4 separate regions of the Homo sapiens genome follow, and all the other regions are linked to region 2. The links are contacts of gene promoters, found by promoter capture Hi-C in human tissues and cell types (Jung and others, 2019). All regions are on one chromosome and are shown on one strand. The core of a region is centred on a gene start or on the middle of the fragment in contact, and the rest is flanking DNA. Distances in the headings are between cores, read along the strand shown. Region 1 overlaps RUBCN (rubicon autophagy regulator). Region 2 holds the start of DLG1 (discs large MAGUK scaffold protein 1). Region 3 has its middle 27 kb from the start of BDH1. Region 4 has its middle 57 kb from the start of BDH1.

Region 1 (2,700 bases), core at 158-2,657, 380 kb before region 2:
GACAGTCTGGAACCAGTTGTCGAGTTAGAGCGTGGGACAGTCTGAAGCCAGCTGTCAGTCAGAGTGTGGGACAGTCTGAAGCCAGGTGTCGAGTTAGAGCGTAGGACAGTCTGAAGCCAGTTGTCAGTCAGAGTGTGGGACAATCTGAAGCCAGGTGTCGAGTCAGAGCATAGGACAGTCTGGAGCCAGTTGTCAGAGCGTAGGACAGTCTGCTCTGGGTGCAGCATGCAAGGCTTCTAGAACCCCAGGGTTTAAAGGCCCTGGGCTTCCCACACTGGATTCCTCTTCTCACATCTCCCTCCCACTCCTGCCCCCCTCTCTTTCTTTTCAGCTGCTGCGGGTCCAGCTGTGTCACATGAAGAACATGTTCAAGACTTGCCGACTGGCCAAGGAGTAAGTCCTTTTGGAGCTAGAGCCCTCTGGCCACGTTGCTGTCTCCGAAAGGGACACATCCCCGCGCTTGGCTCTTGTTATGTAACGAAGGAGAGTAGAGAGATTTTGCAGAACTGTAAAGTGGTAAACAGGAGGCCACAGCAGTAACTGTATCTGTGTCCTTCTCTCTGGAAGGGGATCTGTGGTCATTCCATCCAGGACAGGCCACCTCTCTTCCCAGGCTGGGTCTCACATGGGCCACTCTGCAGGAGCCTATAAATCAGTCACTCCTGCCATCCAGACACCTAATAGCGTGGAACGGCTGCGGCGGCCTGGAACCTTGGGCTGGCTGATGGGTGCCCACCCTCATTACTTTCTGCAGTTTCTGGATAGGGATCCTTCTACTACGATGTGGCACATGCACTGTTCATTCCCTCACCTGCCTCCTGTCACTCCCTGTAGGCTTCTGGATTCCTTTGACACAGTCCCAGGCCACCTGACAGAGGACCTCCACCTGTACTCACTGAATGACCTGACTGCGACCAGGAAGGGGGAGCTGGGGCCCCGGCTTGCTGAGCTCACCAGGGCAGGGGCTACCCATGTGGAGAGATGCATGGTGAGAAAGTCTCACTGTAGCATGCAGCTGAGCCCTTGCTTTTAGGGATACAGGGAGGGGGGTGGACCTGGGGTTCTTGCCACTTAGCTTGAGGAAGTTGAAATGGCCAGTCAGCACTGGGAGAGGAACTGGAAAGGGCTGCTGTTCCTTAGCCTGGAGAGCAGCCAAATCATCCTGATCTAAAGAACCTCGAGTGAGGGGAGGAGCTGGTGCTGGCTGTGGTCCTGGGTAGCTCCGGGCAAGACCGAGTAGACTTTCACTCAAGAAGTGTTGGCCAGGCACGGTGGCTTAGGCCTCTCATCCCAGCAATTTGGGAGGCCGAGGTGGGCGGGTCACCTGAGGTCAGGAGTTCAAGACCAGCCTGACGAACATGATGAAACCCCATCTCTACTAAAATACAGAAATTAGCCGGGCATGATGGCGGGTGCCTGTAATCCCAGCTACTCGGGAGGCTGAGGCAGGAGAATTGCTTGAATCCAGGAGGCGGAGGTTGCAGTGAGCCGAGATCATGCCACTGCACTCCAGCCTGAGCGACAAGAGTGGAAAAAAAAAAGGCAGTTGTCATGATGTGAGAGGAGAGCTCTGGATTGGAATCGAGAGGGAGTCTACCCTCGGCCGTCATTTGTTGTTCTCAGTCATTATGACCAAAATAAATACTTTGTCCCCTCTGAGGCCTCGATTTTCTTGGCTCTAAGATGAAGAGAATAATTTACTTTCTTCTCAGTATTTTTGAGGGTTGATGGGGTAATTTGTATGACAGCGTTTTGTATACTTTATGTATTCCTCAAACGCACGTCGTTATTGTCGTCATCTACTCAACATGTTGAAAATGCAGAAATTACACTTTTAGAACTTCCTGTCTTAGCCTATGCCCAGTTTATGTTCCTGTGACCGTCCCATAATTCGAGCTGGGCACAGGTAGGAAACCCTGTGTGTCTGGGAGGAACTGGAAATCCTTCACTACAACCTGACTCCAGGCTTGGAGCTGTGTTTGAGGAACAGCCTCGTCTCCACATTTTATCTTAATTGCTTGTGGTTCCTATTCTGAAATAAAATCATGACCCAGATGGGACTGTCGGCTTAGGAAGCCCTTTGTGGTGCCATTTCCTCCTTCTCCTCTCTTCATGGAGAGCCGCGCTGGGGGTCGGAGCTTCTCCGGCTGGTGCCTGTCTGATCTTCTGCCTAAAGCTTTGTCTAACGCTGCCCGGCCCTGGTCCTAGTTTAGCTTTCATGCTTCTGAGTCCAGCCCAGGCCTCCTCCCTGTGGGCAGCAGAACCCTGTAGACCACTCCCCTCCTCGGTGTTCACCCTCCCGTGCCAGTTCCTGATGTGCCGCTCCTCATTTTGCCATCTGTGTTTTTCCTCCCCAGCTCTGCCAAGCCAAAGGCTTCATCTGTGAGTTCTGTCAGAATGAGGATGACATCATCTTTCCCTTTGAGCTCCATAAGTGCCGGACCTGTGAAGGTGAGGGCAGGTGCAGGCATCGGGCAAGTGAGCCTGAACACAGGGCTCCTTGATTCCCCAGAGCCACCCCTGTTAGCAAGAGTTCGGTGCCACTCAGCACCTCGCGGGGCCTCCCCAGGGGACACCACGCCTTGGTGGCGAGAAGGGGCTGTGGCAGCAACTGACCTCTAGCTGGAGATAATACAAATTGTTTTCTTCTCTCCCCCACCTTCCCAACCTGAGTAGAGTGTAAAGCGTGTTACCATAAAG
Region 2 (2,700 bases), core at 48-2,547:
CCCATTCACAGTCCATCAGCGAAGTCTTGAGAGTATGATGCCTGTCATGAGCCACTTTCACTACTAAATAAATTCCGTCCCTCTGTTAAGTTCCCGGCTGTTAGGACACCTCTGCCTTCAGCACCGTTTGACCCTTCTATCCCATTTTCTCTATGCAATGTTGCTTTAACTGTTGTTCAAGATCCCAGGATGCTTGATCCGGGAAAGCACAGAGGTCTGCTGCCAACATACCAACATACCTCTCTGTCAAGTTGTCCAAAATCACAAGAGAAAGAGCCCTGGACTAGAGCTAGGAGACCTGAGTTCTCGGCTGCTCTGTTACTGATTAGCGTCTATGTCCTTGGACAAGTTGCTTCCCTTTTTCCGGACCTCGGTTCCTTGTCCTAGATAGGTTCTAAAGTCGGTGGGTCCTTACAGTAAGTTAGGATTCTAAGGTGCAATCCAAAAGTAAAACCAGTGGTCAGTATACCTCTGAGTAGCTGTTAAGGTTACAATACGAGGTTCCTCGGCCTTCCCTTTGGTAGCCAATGGATACGGCCTCAGTCAGAGGCCGTCAGGTTTACTGGGAAGAGCCTTCCGGTTTTGAAAGACAGGATCTCCGGGTTTCCAGTTCTGTCACTCACTCGGGGTAACTTTGGGCAAATTCTCTCTGGACCTCCTAATAGGGAGGTCCTCGTCACCCCGAGGAAGTTCGAAGACGTGGGCAGTGACTTGGAAAGCTTCCCGAGATTCCCCTTCTATAACCTGGGTGGCTCAGACCGGGAGCGGGGTCCCAGCCGGCCGGTAATTCCGCCCGGAGGTGCGCACGAAACAAACCTGCAGCGCTGGCCGAGGGCGGCTCAGCTTCGGAGGGCGCGACTCCGGGTGAGTTCTTAAAGGGACCGTCAGAGTTTGGGTAACACCTGCGATGCTGACCGGGCGGGGACGCAGGCTTGAGGGAAATGAATGAATGAATGAATGAGCGAATGAATGAACAAACCTTCTCTGCCCACCCTTAAGTATACCATACTCGGAATTAATCAGTTAGGCTTAAAAATCTTGTACTATAACCCTCAAACTCTTGCCAAGTTAACCAGTGTCTCTATTTCATATGTCCTTCTGTAATGAAACCCCTCCCCCCAAGCCTATTACTAAGGGACGAAGAGTAACTTAACAATCAGCCTGGAGTGGAAGGCAATGCAGAGTTGGCACCCCTCCCCGAACTCCTCCCTCTCCCTCTCCCAGGCCCCGCCCTCCCCGCCCCCTGGGAGGTGCAGTTGGCTCCTCCTTAAGGCGGCTTTTCCCCGGTGGGGATCTACCCCCGGGGTCGCCAGGCGCTGTCTCTGCCGCGGAGTTGGAAACGGCACTGCTGAGTGAGGTTGAGGGGTGTCTCGGTATGTGCGCCTTGGATCTGGTGTAGGCGAGGTCACGCCTCTCTTCAGACAGCCCGAGCCTTCCCGGCCTGGCGCGTTTAGTTCGGAACTGCGGGACGCGCCGGTGGGCTAGGGCAAGGTAAAGGCGGGCTCCTCCAGGGCCACCCCGGGCCACCTGTGGAGTCCGAGTGTTAACTCCTTTGTTCTCAGAGCCACTTCAGCGGCCGCCCTTTTAAGCGAAGAGGTTCCCTTAGGATGCTCCCCGGGTACCCCTTCCGTTCCCCTGCCCTCCCCCGACCCGCCTCCCCCTTCCAACCCGAAGGTAGCAGCGCGGGGAGCCCGGGGCTCGGCGCGAGCCGCCTCCTCACTTCCCATTGGCTGAGAGCGCCGGGAAAGCGGTCACGTGGGAGCGCGGCAGGCCAGCTCGGGGGCCGCCATCTTGGCGGAAAGTTTCGGGGGAGAGCGGTTGGGGGCGCGGAAGGAGGCGAGGTTCCGGGGGTGGGGCGTGCGGCAGCAACTGGGCGAGCGGGCCGGGGGGCCGCGGCGAGCGAGGAGGCGGCGCGGCCGAGAAGGAGGACGAGGCCGCGGGGGTGCGGCGGCCCAGGGGAGCTCCTCCCCCGTCCCTTCGCCCCCTCCGCTCGGCTCCGCGGGCCCCGGGCGGGGCGGGGGTACGTGGAGCGGGGCCGGGCTGGGGAGCTGCTCCGAGTCTGGCCGGGGCGCACCCCAGTTCCGAGCGCACGCCGCTCACCGGAACTTTGTGGCGGCGCCGCAGGTGTGGGGGCCCGCGGAGGTGTGCATGCGGGGCGCGAGGGCGTCGCGGAGAGCGGCCGCTGCCCTGTCCGGCCCCCGCTGGAGCAGCCCGGAGGCAGCGAGCAAGGAGAAAGGCAAGCGAGAGGAGGGGGCCCGAGCAGGGCGGGCGGCCAGTCCCGCTGGTCCCCTCTCAGCGCTCTGCGGCCGCTGCTGGCTCAGGGGCCAAGGGTCGGAGCGCTTCACCCGCCCGTACCCAGTAGCAGGTGGGGAGTGTGGATACTTGTGCGGGGGAAGAGGCGGCCTCAGGTCTAGGCTCTTTGGGGAGGGGACGCTTTCGAGGAGAGTTTGGAAGCCGACTTCTGTCTGTTCTTAATTTGGAGGGGTACCCACTCCAAGGAAAAGCTTTCCACGTTGACAGACAACTGCTGCGTTTTGAGACTCTTTCTTTGACTTGGTAAAACTTTGGAACGTGGGGTTTTCAAATAGGCTGCGAGGGTTTTCTATTTCGATAGGGGAAAATGCTAGTTTAACATGATTCTATCCTTTTTCCTTTCCGTTGTGTGTTTTAAAGGTGTGTGCCCTCTTCCTGATTCTGGAG
Region 3 (2,700 bases), core at 104-2,603, 280 kb before region 2:
CTACATCGTTCAGGAGCCAGGTGGCTTGGTAGTGGCAGGAAGCACAGATGCATCTTGCAGAAGAAGCTGCCAAGCCCTGACTCTCCTGCCAGCTGGCCCTGCCACCATAGACCTGGATCTTGGAGAGAGTCACTGCTTTTCCAGGGCAGTCCTTTGGCCTGGGTCTCAAAGACCTCTAAAACTTAGCTTGGGCTTGGCGCAGTGGCTCACGCCTGTAATCCCAGCACTTTGGGAGGCTGAGGCAGGTGGATCACGAGGTCAGGAGTTCAAGACCAGCCTTGCCAACATGGTGAAACCCCATCTCTACTAAAAATACAAAAAATTAAATGGGTGTGGTGGCGGGCACCTTTAATCCCAGCTACTGGAGAGGCTGAGGCAGAGAATTGCTTGAACCTAGGAAGTGGAGGTTGCAGTGAGCCAAGATTGCACCACTGCACTCCAGCCTGGTGACAGAGTGAGACTCTGTCTCAGAAAAAAAAAAAAAAAAAAAAGAAAACAAAAATACAGCTTGGAGTATCCAAAGGACTTGAGAGATAGAGTAGTGGTCAAGAAGCAAGGTTATAAACACCCTGTAAGGACTGAGGTTGCTACCGCTTTAAATTCCATTGAGCATTCGGAAGCAAAATGGTGCATTTTTATACAGTAATTTTATTAAGAGAACAAGTGTCCACCACTGTGTGGCACCCGTATTTGTTCAGCCATAGATTTTAGAGGCATCTTGCAAAGCCTGATTCTAATTAATTTAAGTCCATTAGATGGAATGTGTTACTGTTCCTGGCCAAAACTAAGTTGTCACAGTCAGATTAATTTCTCCTAGCAGAGTGGCAAAGCAATTACGACTGCAAATACGGCAAGTCACTCCTCACCGGCAGAAGCTCATGATATTTGAGGGAGTCTTATGTACCTAAAATGTTCGGTGATAAATTGTTAGATGATATTTAATTAGACAATTAACTCAACGTGCAGCTTGATTATCAGTTAGGTGGAGAGCTCCAGCCTCTCACCGGTTTGGTTCACTGCAGTTTCTCCCAAGCGCTGCTTCCTATTGGGAATGGATGCTCGGCTCCTTTCAGGCTTTCTGTCTTGTCTCCAGCTCACGTGCCCAAGATACGCATCTCCTGGGGACTTGAACAGGCATCAGGCTGGCAAAAAATGGTGGGAATCATGGCCGGGCGCGGTGCCTCATGCCTGTAATCACAGCATTTTGGGAGGCTAAGGTGGGCAGATCACTTGAAGTCAGGAGTTTGAAACCAGCCCGGCCAACATGGTGAAACCCTGTCTCTACTAACAATACAAAAATTAGCCAAGTGTGGTGGTGCACGTCTGTAATCCCAGCTACTCGGTAGGCCGATGCAAGAGAATCGCTTGAACCTGGGAGGTGGAGGTTGCGGTGAGCTGCGATCGCGCCACTGCACTCCAGCCTGGGTGACAGATTGAGACTCCATCTCCAAAAAAAAAAAAAAAAAAAAAAATGGAAATGAGAACTCTGAGCGATCTTCAGTCTTACCGAAGCCTGGCTTGTCATTCTGTGAACACAGAGCTAGAGGTCCAGTGGGAGAGGCTTAAGGCCACACAGCTAGGTAGTGGCAGGAACTGGATACCACTTTTTGACTTGAGAAGTGTGTAGATCTACTGAAATGTTAATTTTTTTTTTTTTTTTTTTTTTTTTTTGAGATGGAGTCTCACTCTGTCTCCCAGGCTGGAGTGCAGTGGTGCGATCTCAGCTCACTGCAACCTCCGCCTCCCGGGTTCAAGCTATTCTCCTGCCTCAGCCTCCCAAGTAGCTGGGATTATAAGTGTGTGCTGCCACACCCGGCTAATTTTTGTATTTTCAGTAGAGACGGGGTTTCGCCATGTTGGCCAGGCTGGTCTCAAACTCCTGACCTCAGGTGATCCACCCACCTCAGCCTCCCAAAGTGGTGGGATGACAGGTGTGAGCCACCACGCCTGGCCATTCATTTCTTATTAGACTCCAGAGTAGAACTTTTTCACAACTTTGTCCCTGTGATGTGCTTTCCTTGAAGATCCTTTCCCTCAGAGAACTGACAGATAGTAAAGAACAGCCAGGAAGAGTGGGCTCTACCGTTCTTCAGGGCTTGCCTTTGGCTTTCTGCCCTCAGAACCAGGAAAAAGAGAACACTTGCTTTTTGTCTCACCCAGCCTCAGGGAGCAGAAATGCTAGAGAAATCCCAAAAGCTTAGGTAAAGATGGGCATAGATAGGAGTGGCTGTCCCCAGGAAAGATGGGCGTAGATAGGAGTGGCTGTCCCCAGGAAAGATGGGCGTGGATAGGAGTGGCTGACCCCAGGAAAGATGGGCGTAGATAGGAGTGGCTGTCCCCAGGAAAGATGGGCGTAGATAGGAGTGGCTGTCCCCAGGAAAGATGGGCGTAGATCGGAGTGGCTGTCCCCAGGAAAGATGGGCGTAGATCGGAGTGGCTGTCCCCAGGAAAGATGGGCGTAGATAGGAGTGGCTGACCCCAGGAAAGATGGGCGTAGATCGGAGTGGCTGACCCCAGGAAAGATGGGCGTGGATAGGAGTGGCTGTCCCCAGGAAAGATGGGCGTAGATAGGAGTGGCTGTCCCCAGGAAAGATGGGCGTAGATAGGAGTGGCTGTCCCCAGGAAAGATGGGCGTAGATAGGAGTGGCTGTCCCCAGGAAAGATGGGCGTAGATAGGAGTGGCTGACCCCAGGAAAGATG
Region 4 (2,700 bases), core at 82-2,581, 310 kb before region 2:
ACCTACCTGTGACCTGGAAGATCCCTCTCTGCTTGAGTTGTCCTGCTTTTCTGGATGGAACCAATGTTCATCTTACATATATTGATTGATGTCTCATGTCTCCCTAAAATGTATAAAACCAAGCTGTGCCCTGACCACCTTGGGCACATGTCGTCAGGACCTCCTGAGGCTGTGCCACAGGCATGCAGCCTCAACCTTGGCAAAATAAACTTTCTAAATTGACTGAGACCAGTCTCAGATATTCAGGGTTCACAGTATCCAAAAATCCAATCACATCTGAAACCGCCTTTGCAAAAATTATCACAGTGAGAAAATAATGGCAGTGAAAGAAAGCTGATCTAGCCAACCTCCCTCTTGCCTTTAGCTTTCAAGCTGCTTTTACTTATTCCTGGGTTTAAGCCAAGCTACATGTGGGAGTCATTTAGTTGATAGTTTAAATTATAATAACCCTTCCCCGAAACTCAACCACCCTTGTAATACTGAGAGACCACCAGGCTAGGAGGAGGAGAGGAGCCTAAATTCTGCTAAGGTGTAGACAAAAACAATTGTGAGGCGTTATTCCAGAAGCCACAAGATATGCAACTTCCTCAGTTACCCCTGCAGATAATGTTACTTTTGTAGAACCTAGGATTGGCCTTCTGAGATATCTTCTCAGGATTTTGCATGTCTGATGACCGATGGCTCCACCGGGACCAGCCAACGGCTTCTGTGTCCCCACCCAGAAGCGACTCAGAGAAAGAGGACAGCTTCGACACCCTATGATTTCATCTCTGACCCAACCAATCAGCACTCCCCATACCCTAGCCTGCTACCTACCAAATTACCTTTGAAAAATCCCTAACCTCCAAGCCTTAGATGAGTTTGATTTGAGTAATAACTCTGCCTCCCACATGGTGTGGCTGGCATCATGTCAATTAACCTCTTTCTTTACTGCAGTGCCATGGTCTCCATGAACTGATTTTTTTGTGCAGTGGGCAGGAAGAACCCATCGGGCAGCTACACATCTTGAAAGAGAAGCTCTTCCTGTGAGGTACATCAACTGTGGTTAAGAATCTTACATACTTATCATTTTTTGTTGTTGTGAGAACATTTAAAATCTACCCTTTTCTTTCTTTTTTTTTTTTTTTTTTTTGAAATGGCGTCTCACTCTGTTGCCCAGGCTGGAGTGCAATGGCATGATCTTGGCTCACCACAACCTGCTGGGTTCAAGTGATTCTGTTGCCTCAGCCTCCTGAGTAGCTGGGATTACAGGCATGCACCACTCTTTTAGCAATTTTATTTATTTATTTTGTTATTTTGAAAAAGTATTTTTAACTTTTACTTTAGATTAATGGGGTATATGTGCAGGCTTGCTATATGGGTATATTGTGTGATGCTGAGGTTTGGGGTATGAATGATCCTGTCAGCCAGATCGTGAGCATCGTACACAAGCAATTTTAAAATATACAAATGGTGTGGTATGGTGGTACATGCCTGTAGTCCCAGCTACTCAAGAGGATGGGGCCAGAGGATCGCTTGAGCCTAGGTGTTTGACACCAGCCTAGACAACATTGTGAGACTCTGTCTCAAAAATAATAAATAACAAAACAAAATAAAATATACAATGCATTATTATTTAATACAGTCATTATTCTATGCAATAAATCACTAAAGCTTATTTTTCCTGTCTAACTGAAACTTTGTACTCTTTGATGAACTTCTCCGCTTTCCCCATCCACCCCACTTCCCTGGATTTTATTAAATTAAATTGTATTATATTGAATTTACCAGAATTAATCACTACATTAGAAGAAACTCCAGTGGGTATTCCTAAAATCATGGAGAAGTAGATAGATTTAAAAGCAAAAGAAATGCTGCAATTTCTTCAGAGTTCATAAGAGAACTTCTATTGGAGAAATGGAAAATTTGAGCTGGCTAAGCCTTGAGACCTCCCAAGACTAAGTTATAGGAGTTTAGCCTTCTAAACTACCTCAGGGTACAGCCTGGTCTTAATTTTTAATTTTAAATTTATTTTTATTTTTAATTTATTTTTATTTTTATTTTTGAGACAGAGTCTCATTCTGTCGCCTAGGCCAGAGTTTAGTGGTGCACAATCTCGGCTCACTGCAACCTCCGCCTCCCAGGTTCAAGCATTTCTCTTGCCTCAGCTTCCCGAGTAGCTGGGATTACAGGCATGTGCCACTATGCCCGGCTAACTTGTATTTTTAGTGGAGATGGCGTTTCACCATGTTGGCCAGGCTGGTCTTGAAGTCCTGACCTCAGGTCATCTGCCCACCTTGGCCTCCCAAAGTGCTAGGATTACAGGCGCGAGCCACTGTGCCCAGCCTATTTTTTATTTTTATGGGTACCTATTAGATGTATATATTAATGGGGTACATAAGATATTTTGATAGAGACATACAATGTGTAACAATCATGTCAGGGTAAATGGAGTATCCGTCAGCTCAAGCACTGATGCTTTCTTCATGTTTCAAACAATCCAGTTATACTCTTTTAGTTATTTTTAAATGTATAATAAATTGTAGTCACTCCATTGTCCTATCAAATATTAGATTTTATTAATTCTATCTAACTATATTTTTGTACCCATTAACCATCGCTCATTTTCTCCACCCCCAACTACCCTTTCCAGACTCTGGTAGCCATCATTCTACTCTATCTCCACGGGCTCAATTGTTTTGAGTTTTAGATCCCACAAAT

Evidence for each region. The method cuts DNA at HindIII sites, captures the fragments that hold promoters and counts their contacts. A contact is called where the count stands out against the background at its distance.
Region 1: a contact is called between a fragment that was not itself captured here and the fragment with the promoter of DLG1 in region 2, in 1 of the 25 tissues and cell types used here (dorsolateral prefrontal cortex).
Region 3: a fragment that was not itself captured here is called in contact with the fragment with the promoter of DLG1 in region 2 in 1 of the 25 tissues and cell types used here (mesenchymal stem cells).
Region 4: a fragment that was not itself captured here is called in contact with the fragment with the promoter of DLG1 in region 2 in 1 of the 25 tissues and cell types used here (mesendoderm cells).

Annotation. Positions count from the first base shown.
Region 1 is chr3:197,675,173-197,677,872 of GRCh38, reverse strand. RUBCN (rubicon autophagy regulator) reads left to right here. Exons shown (of 20, transcript NM_014687.4): 17 at 332-393; 18 at 835-988; 19 at 2,358-2,451; 20 at 2,677-2,700. Among named protein-coding and RNA genes, the nearest start is that of MIR922, 1.9 kb to the right of the region's middle. The HindIII fragment of the contact is 4,269 bases long and covers 1-2,700 here.
Region 2 is chr3:197,297,209-197,299,908 of GRCh38, reverse strand. It overlaps DLG1 (discs large MAGUK scaffold protein 1), which reads left to right and starts at 1,297. Exons shown (of 25, transcript NM_001366207.1): 1 at 1,297-1,373; 2 at 2,674-2,700. DLG1-AS1 (DLG1 antisense RNA 1) reads right to left here and starts at 1,662. Exons shown (of 3, transcript NR_038289.1): 1 at 1,299-1,662; 2 at 817-931. RefSeq lists silencers at 1,121-1,250, 1,741-2,370. The HindIII fragment of the contact is 3,262 bases long and covers 1-1,612 here.
Region 3 is chr3:197,581,606-197,584,305 of GRCh38, reverse strand. No RefSeq gene overlaps it. Among named protein-coding and RNA genes, the nearest start is that of BDH1, 27 kb to the right of the region's middle. The HindIII fragment of the contact is 8,951 bases long and covers 1-2,700 here.
Region 4 is chr3:197,611,555-197,614,254 of GRCh38, reverse strand. It overlaps the pseudogene SDHAP4. Among named protein-coding and RNA genes, the nearest start is that of BDH1, 57 kb to the right of the region's middle. The HindIII fragment of the contact is 3,475 bases long and covers 1-2,700 here.